Linked DNA regions of Homo sapiens: region 1 is linked to region 2. Evidence: promoter capture Hi-C in 16 types of primary human blood cells and fetal thymus (Javierre and others, 2016). All regions are on one chromosome and are shown on one strand. Each heading gives the region's core, a stretch centred on a gene start or on the middle of the fragment in contact. The rest is flanking DNA. Distances are from core to core; before and after follow the strand shown.

What was found. The method cuts DNA at HindIII sites, captures the fragments that hold promoters and counts their contacts. A CHiCAGO score of 5 or more calls a contact.
Region 1: a contact is called between the fragment with the promoter of SAMD4B here and the fragment with the promoter of ACP7 in region 2, in 3 of 17 cell types (total CD8 T cells, naive CD8 T cells and total CD4 T cells). The highest score is 6.8, in total CD8 T cells.

Annotation. Positions count from the first base shown.
Region 1 is chr19:39,340,636-39,344,836 of GRCh38, forward strand. SAMD4B (sterile alpha motif domain containing 4B) reads left to right here and starts at 1,786. Exons shown (of 14, transcript NM_001384574.2): 1 at 1,786-1,941. RefSeq lists a silencer at 1,475-1,904. The HindIII fragment of the contact is 6,593 bases long and covers 1-2,158 here.
Region 2 is chr19:39,083,037-39,087,205 of GRCh38, forward strand. ACP7 (acid phosphatase 7, tartrate resistant (putative)) reads left to right here and starts at 1,332. Exons shown (of 13, transcript NM_001004318.3): 1 at 1,332-1,364; 2 at 2,056-2,354. The coding sequence starts at 2,234. RefSeq lists an enhancer at 1,185-1,685. The HindIII fragment of the contact is 23,028 bases long and covers 138-4,169 here.

The DNA.
Region 1 (4,201 bases), core at 536-3,035, 260 kb after region 2:
ATGTTGGTCAGGCTGGTCTCGAACACCTGCCTCGGCCTCCCAAAATGCTGGGATTACAGGTGTGAGCCACCGCGCTCATCCTATTGTTGTGTTTCTAGCACCTTAAGCAGAGCCTGGCACATATTAGATAGTCAAGAAATATTATTGAATGAATTAATGAACCAGCAGTTAATGAGCACAATAATTCTATGCAGTGTGAAGGCTGTTGCTTAAATGCAGGAGGTAGTGGATGGGGTTTGTGACATGGCCCCACCCTGGTGAAACAGCCTTTCCTCAAAGCGTCTATAATGCCACACTCTCCTGGTTTTCCTCTCTCTGGCTGCCTTTTGCAATATTCATCGACAGCGTCAATTCCTTTGCTCAAATCCTGCCTCTCTGTTTCAGGGTTCTGTTCAGTCCCTGTCTCCAGTGACCCTTCATACCCTCCCCGGGCTAGACCCCTAACTCCCACAGCCTCAATTACCATCTTTGACGATCCTTAAATCTTGGTCTCCAGCCTCAATTTCTCCCTTAAGCTCCAGACCCAGGGTTTGTGCACCTCCTGGACCTCGCTACTAGGCATCCACATTGGGCTTAGTATCTTCCCAACCTGCTTCTGGCGCCCAGTCTCCCGGCTAGAGGGGCCTGGTCCTAAACTTTTCTCCCCCTTCCACTCCATAGCCAGCCAGTGTCAGGGCCCGTTCGCTCTGCCTCCAGGGCGTCCCTCCCACCTGCACCTCCTTCCCTCCCCACAGTCCCTCCCTCGTGCAAACCCCCTCTTTCTTCCCCACCCCCTCCCCCAGCTGCCTCCCTGGACTCCCGATCCCGTTTCATTCCCTCCAATCCGCCCTCCATGTATAAGCCAGAGAGACATCTCTCCAAAACCCCAGACTCACCATGATCCTCCCCGGCTTGAAGCCCTTCACGGCTCCCTAGTGCCCTCGGGACAAGTCCAAACTCCCTCAAGTGGCCAAACAACTGGCCTCTGCTCGTTCCTCACCCCTCCCTGTCTTCAACTCGACCCTCCATCCCGACTGCCTCTCTAAGTGCCTGTAACAAGCCAGATCTCTGTCACCGAGAGCCTTCTGAACACAGGTCCCTCTGATTAGTTCACCCGGACCCAATACAGTTTGTGGAACGCACAGATCACAACCAAAGTCACAGCAACAACTCCCGTTTATTGACAGCCTCCTTGATCCTTAGCGCTTTCTGTGCATTCTCTTCCCACCCTAAAGGCTAGATCTCGCCTCGCCATTCCCATCGGAGAGAGCAAGCGGCAAGGCTGAGAACAGCGCGATGAGAAAGCCGAGCGCCCAGAAGCCCGAGTGCAGACGCCCACTGAGGACAGCCTTGGGTGAGGCGGGCCACCCAAGGGGCGGGGAAGAGGAGGCCTGGAACGCCTGAATCAGGAACTGTGACTTCGCTCGGGGCAGCTGGGGTGGACGCGCGCGAGCCTGCCCCCTGCGGGCCTGGAGGCCCAACCTCAGACTCCGCCGGGCCCGTTGCCCTGGGCAACGCCCCGCGCGCCCCGCCCCTTCCCCGCCCCCCAGCCCCAAACCCCAGGCCTGGCCGACTGCCCGTCACCCCCACGTCCGACCAATCCCGCCGAGGAGGGGGCGGGCCTCTTGGGCCCCGTTCCACCACCGTCGCTCCCCCCTCGCCGCGACCCCGCCTTACTCGGCTCACACCTCCCGCCCTTCGGGCTGCCCTCGCCGCCCGTTGGCTGGCGCGCCGTTCGTCACCCGGGCGTGAGCTAATGCCGGCGCGCGGCGGCCCCCGTCGGGGCGGGGCCAGGGGCGGTGACGCACGGCGCGGTGACGCAGCGCGACGGCGGCGGCGGCGGCGGCGGCGGTGGTCGGTGCGGGAGGAGGGAGGGGAGCTTGCGGGCCCGAGAGGGGGCGACGGCGGCGGCGGTGGCCTGAGGAGGCCCGAGCGGCGGCGGTGGCGGCGAAGGCCGAGGCGGTGAGTCTCGGGCCGGGCCGGCGCGGGGCGGCGGCGAGTCGGGGCGCGCGGGGCTCCCCTCAGGGCGACCCAGGCCGCGCGGGCGGCCCCGCCCCCTCAGGGACCCCGAACCGCGGGCGGCGGCGGCGGGCGGGTGCGGAACGCGGGCCTCGGGGGGCCGGGCCCCACGGGAGAAGCCCCGCGCCCGTCCCCAGTCTCCCTCCTGGGCCCTGGCCGAAGCTTCCCTCCGAAATCTTTCTCATGCCCTCGGGATTGCCGAGGGGCCGGGCCGGGGGCCTCTCCTCAGGACCCCCCGCACATCCCCCTCGGAGAGCCCCGGAAAGCCTGCCGATCCCCCGTGTGCGCCCTGAAAGGTCCCCGCAAAACCCACCCCTCCCGTGGAGTCGCCTCCTCGAGCCCTTCATGGGTCCCAGCAGCTTTCCTCGCAGACCCCCGCCCTTTGGCCCCGAAGCCCCCGTCCTCCTCCTGTCTCCAGAAATAGTCCTCGGAGGCCACTCCTCGTCCATTCCACAGCGTGGCTCTCATAGCTGCTCCAGGAGCCTCCCTCACGAGCCCTGCACACCTCCCCAAGGCTCCCTCCGGACCCCTGTCCATTCCAGAACTCTCCCCCGGAGCCCTGCCTCTCACAGCCCAACAGGCTCACCCGACTTCCCCCTCCCGGATCCTAAGAATTTTCCCTCCCACTTACCCCATTCCAGAAACCTCCTTGGAGATTTTCCGCTCATACCCCCTGCATTTCTGATTCCCCCTCCCAGAAGTCCTTCAGAATGCCCCCGACGGACCGTGATCATCTTCCCTGAAGATCTCCTTCCCATATCCCCAAAATAAATCTTCCTCACAGACTTTGTGAAATGCCCCCAGATCCCAAAAACTCACCTAGAAGACTCCATCCCCCTCCCCACCGTATTGCAACCATCTCTCATACACACTCCCCCTTCACGTATCCCTCTGGACCTTTCCACAGATCCCAAAAGTCTCCCCCAGAGGCCTCCTGTCTCCCCCTGGTCTCACCACCCTAAAATGCCCTAGAGATCACCCTCATGTAGCCCAGTGATCTTCACCGGGATCCCCTTCCCCACCCCCACTCATTCTAAAAATCTCCAGCAATTGCCTGAAATCTCCAGAGGACTCTCAGCATCATATTCCAAAAGCTTCTTCCAAAATCCCTTTTACATACTCCACATCTTTTCCAGTCCCCCACATCACACGCTCCAAAAATTGTTTAAGGATCCTGAAAACTTTCCTCATGGTTTTTCTCTCAGATCCCGTAGAACTCCCCTTCACTAACACCTCAGAATCCCCCCTTGCAGACCGGTTTTAGAGGAATTTTCTGAAGATCCTCCTCACAACCCCTGTAAGACCGTAAGATTCTCTTGGTGACCCCTCTGATATGCAGGTTTTCAGGACCCCCCCCCCCCACACACACACACAGCTTAGAGACCCCAGCGACCCCCTGGAGCCCTCCTGACGTATGTTCTTGAAATCCCTCCAAGACCTTCCTGACACCACCAGAACCCCTTGAATCAATACTTCTGCCTTACTAAGGGACTTTTCTAGAGATATCCCTCCCTGAACTTGCTCACACAGGTCCCCTAAATCCTCTAGAATCCCTTGAAGAAGACCCTCACACACACCTAATTTTCCCCCAAAATAACCCGAGCTCTTGCTCTGAGAAAGTCCTATAATTCTTTCTGAAAAACCCTCTCCTCTGACACTCTCTCAGAAGACCCCGCCTTCCCCATATACTCTTTTGGAGACTTTACTCAGCTTTCTCCTCAACTGAGATCTCTGAAGAGTTTTTCCTAAAAACATCCCTCTGTCATCCCACTCCAGGACCAGTCTCAGAAGACCACACCTTCCTCAGACACTTTTTAGAGAATTTTCTCCCAAATTGCCCTCCATCAGCCACCCACTCCCAGCGCTTCCTGAGACTTCCTCAGAACTTTCCCTCAGATTCCACTTCTGACATCCCCAAGAAACATTATTTAGGACCCTATCAGATTTACCCACTAACTTTAGAATTGCTATTTACACCCTCTCATTTCCCCATTCTCTTTCCTCTGAAGTCAACTCAGAGACCTTTCTCAGGGGGCCCCCTTTTCCCATTATCCCTTCAGAGGTCCCCAACATTCTCCAGACTCGTTGCCCAAGAGCCTCTATGTTTCCTTGTAAAGATTCTTGAGAGACACCTTTCCCCGCCCCCTTGAAATCCCAGTGCTCCGAGATCTTTCTTTCAGACCATTTTTCTTAGGTGCCATGC
Region 2 (4,169 bases), core at 82-2,581:
ACAAAAAAACCCCCCAACACCTTGTATCACAATAGCACTGGTTTCCTTTGTATTTCTGTGTATTTATATTATGCATGTAACGACATGATCCTGAGAAGGGCTTGACCAGCTTGCCATAGGCATCTTTAGCACAAAAAAGCTTAGGAACCTCCCATTCTGGACGAACTAAGAATACGGGGAGGTTATAATTGGGGGCCACAGGAGTGGCAGGTACTCAAGTTTGGTTATGAGAGCTACTTTCATTATATTTTAGGCTGTAATGGAGACTCTGGAAGTGGGAAGAAAAAAAAAAAAACTCAAACAGTGCAAAGGGCTCGTTTTGATTTTCCCACACTCCTAGTGCCAATTTCTGAAATTGGTGTCCACAATCAGTAGAAGCCTATGTGCTCTGAATTTACAAAGCCAAGTGGTGGCGGGTCATTGTATCTGCAGTCAGGAAGGGGAAACGACTGGAAATCCGGGCCCCCCCAGTTCTTCCCTGCTTCTCTTTTTGTGGCAGCCGCTCCTCACGTTCAAACAGATTGCAAAGGTTTACAGGGGAGAACCCTAACTTGTTCCCTAGACGTCAGTTTCTGGAGTTCCTGCATTAATACGATTAAAAAGAACAGCTGATTCTTATCCAGCCCTTACTCTGGGCCGGGCCCTGTTATCGGCATGAAATTTCATGCAGCAACTCGTTTACTCCTCACAACAGCCCACGGGGTATATACGAGCATCACCTCCTTTTTACAGGTGAAAAAACCCAAGGTCCAGCGAGGTTGAATAACTCACCTAGGTCGCACAGCTCAGAAAGCCCACTGCAATTCCGGGATTCTGGTTTTGTTTTGAGGTTGCCCCGGGCTTCTGAGGAGGGGTCAGTGGGCTCAGCATGGAAAGGAAGGAAGCCGGAAGGCTGGAGGAAGATGCAGCGAGGCTGGAAAGGTTGGGGATCCCCCGGTCCTGCACACCTGGGTACCTGGGGATCGGGCAGGGCCAGGATAGGGGCCGGTGTCCGTGCCCTGGGGCTCCCCAGCTGATGAGTGGGCGCCTGAGGGACGAGCGCAGGGTTACCTGCCTGGGCTCTCACCTGGTGGCCGGCTCAGAGGTGGCGCGCCGGAGACGTATCATAACCTTCCTGGGTCCCCCTTCCCGCGCCACGCCCTGGTGGGGTGGGCGGGTGGGTGTGGGGCGCCCAGGCAGGACCGGCCGGACCTGTGGGACCCGGGGCCCTGGCTGTCTAGGGAGGCTGTCACCCCGAGGCGACCGGCTCTTCCGGGGCTGGGACGGCTGTAGGCGGCAAGAGGCCTCGGCACCCGCGAACTCATAAATACCGGGGCGGCGCTGGTGGCGGGAGAGGCGCGTGCGGGCAGCCGGCGCCCCCGAGGGTGAGCCGGGGTCCGGGAGGGCGTCCCCTTTCCCGGATGGTCCCGACCCGGCTCCATCCTGGCAGCTGGAGACGGAGCTGGAGCAGGCGGGAAAGCGCTGGAGAGAAGGGGGGTGGGTACAGATGGGGGAAGGGCAGGGACGCTGGGGATGGGGAGAGAGGATGCGGCCGCTCTGGCCATGATGGGCTCTAAAGGATCTGGGGGTGGTGTGGGAGGATTGGGGTCACTAGGAGCAAAATAGAAGGCTAAGGATGGAGTAGGGAGGCGAGGTCCCGGGGGCAGGCGGGAATGCTTGGAATCTCGGGAGTAGGTAGGAGAACTGGGGTTTCTAACAGCAGGATGGAAAGCTGGGGATGGGGCTGCGGAATGCAACCTCCTACACAGCCTCCACCCCGCTCCCAGACCCCCAGCACTGAGAGTGAGCTCTGGTTAGGAGCAAGGCTCTGGAATCAGGCCCTCCTGGGTTCAAATCCTGGCTCCATCCCATCCTAGCTGTGCAGCTGAATCACTCAGCTGCTCGGTTTCCTCATCTGTGATATGGGGATGACAATGCTCACAGCCACCACTTCATAGCAATGTCGTGAGGCTTCCGTGAATTAATCTATGTCAAGCGGTTGGCACACTGTGAGTGAGGCTCAGAGAGCTCTGCTGCTGTTCCTTAGCGATTCTTATTTTTGGTTTCTCTCTCCAGCACCTGGATAACCACCCATCTTGAAGGAGACCTCCCTGCCCTGCCTCTGTTGTCCCCCAGAGCACTGCCTGATCATCCTCTGTTCCCCATCCTCCCAGCCCTTCCTGCTGTACCTGTGGGGAGCTGATCTCCTCAGTCCCCCTGCTTTTCCCCGGTCTGCCATCACCACCCCACCACCATGCACCCCCTTCCTGGCTACTGGTCCTGTTACTGTCTACTCCTGCTATTCTCCTTGGGAGTCCAGGGGTCCCTGGGGGCTCCCAGCGCTGCCCCAGAGCAAGTCCATCTGTCTTACCCAGGTAAGTGTCCCTGACTCATTTCTATGCCTCTACCAGAGAGGCCCAGCGGTGCTTCGTTGTTTGAGGGCTCAGGAATCCCACACTGTGAGCCCCTAGGCGGGTGGCTCATTCCTCCTGAGCCTCCATCATCCACCTCTGTGGAATAGGAAGTACAGGCTGTGGAACACCTGGAAGTGTGGGGAATGATCATGGTGCTCAGCCCACAGAGAGTGCTCCCCTGCTCTCAAAAGGGGACCGCTGCTGTCCTTGTTCATTGCATCTCTGTTGTGTTTCCGGGACCTGGCACGTTTGTTCGTTCATGCACGGTAGGCCTCAGAGCCAGTTGTGGAAGGAACCAGTGGATGAATGATAACAGAGCTGGGTTACCCAGCCCCTTCTCCATCCCTCTTCTCCTCTTCCCCACGAGGCTGACTGCCTCCCGATCTTTGATTAGGATCCTTCCACTGTGGGAGTAAGAGCTTGGACTCTGGACCATTGGCACCCAGACCACGTGGGTTAGAATCCCAGCTTTGCTATGTACCTGCTGCCTAATCTTGGGCAAGTGGCTTAACCTCTCTGTCCTCAGTCTCCTCATCTGGATAATGGGGTAATATTAGTACAACCTCATGGTGAGGTGTAAATGAGTTGCTACCTGTAAAGGGGCAGAACTGAGGCTGAGTGTGGGGGCTCACACCTGTAGTCTTAGCAGTTTGGGAGGCTGAGGCGGAAGGATCACTTGAGCTCATGAGTTTGGGACCAGCCTAGGAAACATAGTGAGACCTCTGCCTCTTAGGGAAAAAGAAAAAATCTTAGACAGGTGTGGTGGCATGCACCTATAGTCCCAGCTACTTGGGAGACTGAGGTGGGAGGATCGCTTGAGCCCAGGAGTTCAAGGCTGCAGTGAGCCATGATTGGCCACTACACTCCAGCCTGGGCAACAGAGAGAGACCCTGTCTTTAAAAAAAAAAATGTGGAGGAGGCCAGGCACAGTGGTGCATGCCTGTAATCTCAGCAATTTGGGACACTGAGGTGGGTGGATCACTTGACCTCAGGGGTTCAAGACCAGCCTGGGTAACATGGGTGAAACCCGGTCTCTACAAAAAAATTAAAAAATTAGCTGGGCATGGTGGCTCACGCCTGGTCTCAGCTGCTTGGGGAGCTGAGGCAAGAGGATCGCTTGAGCCCAGGAGGCAAAGGTTGCAATGAGCCAAGATCATGCCATTACACTCCAACCTGGCTGACAGAATGAGGCCCTGTCTCAAAAAAAAAAAAGGGGGGGGGGAGGGGGATAGAACGGAGCTTGGCATGTAGCAGCAATTTCCATACACTTTAAATCTCAGGACTGTTTGTTTTAAACTGTTAATCTCAGGACCATTTTACATCACTAAATTTTATGGAGAACTAAAATTTATGGAGAAGTTCAAAGAGCTTTAGTTTATGTGCATTACAGCTAGCAATATTTACTAAATAAGGTATTAAAACTGAGGCATTTAAAATTTTTTATTGTCATTTAAAATTAACAATAACAAACACCTTCAGTATTAATGTATATGATATTTTTAAGGAACAAACTGTATTTTGCAAAAGAAGAAATTGAGTGAGGAAAGTGGCATTGACTTGCATCTTTTAAAAATCTTTTATTTATTTATTTATTTTTGAGACAGGGTCTCGCTCTGTCAACCAGGCTGGAGTGCAGTGGCACAGTCTTGGCTCACTGCAGCCTCTGCCCCGCAGGGTTCAAGTGATTCTCCCACCTCAGCCTCCCGAGTAGCTGGGATTACAGGCACCCACCACCCCATACTTGGCTAATTTTTGTATTTTTTATACAGATGGAAT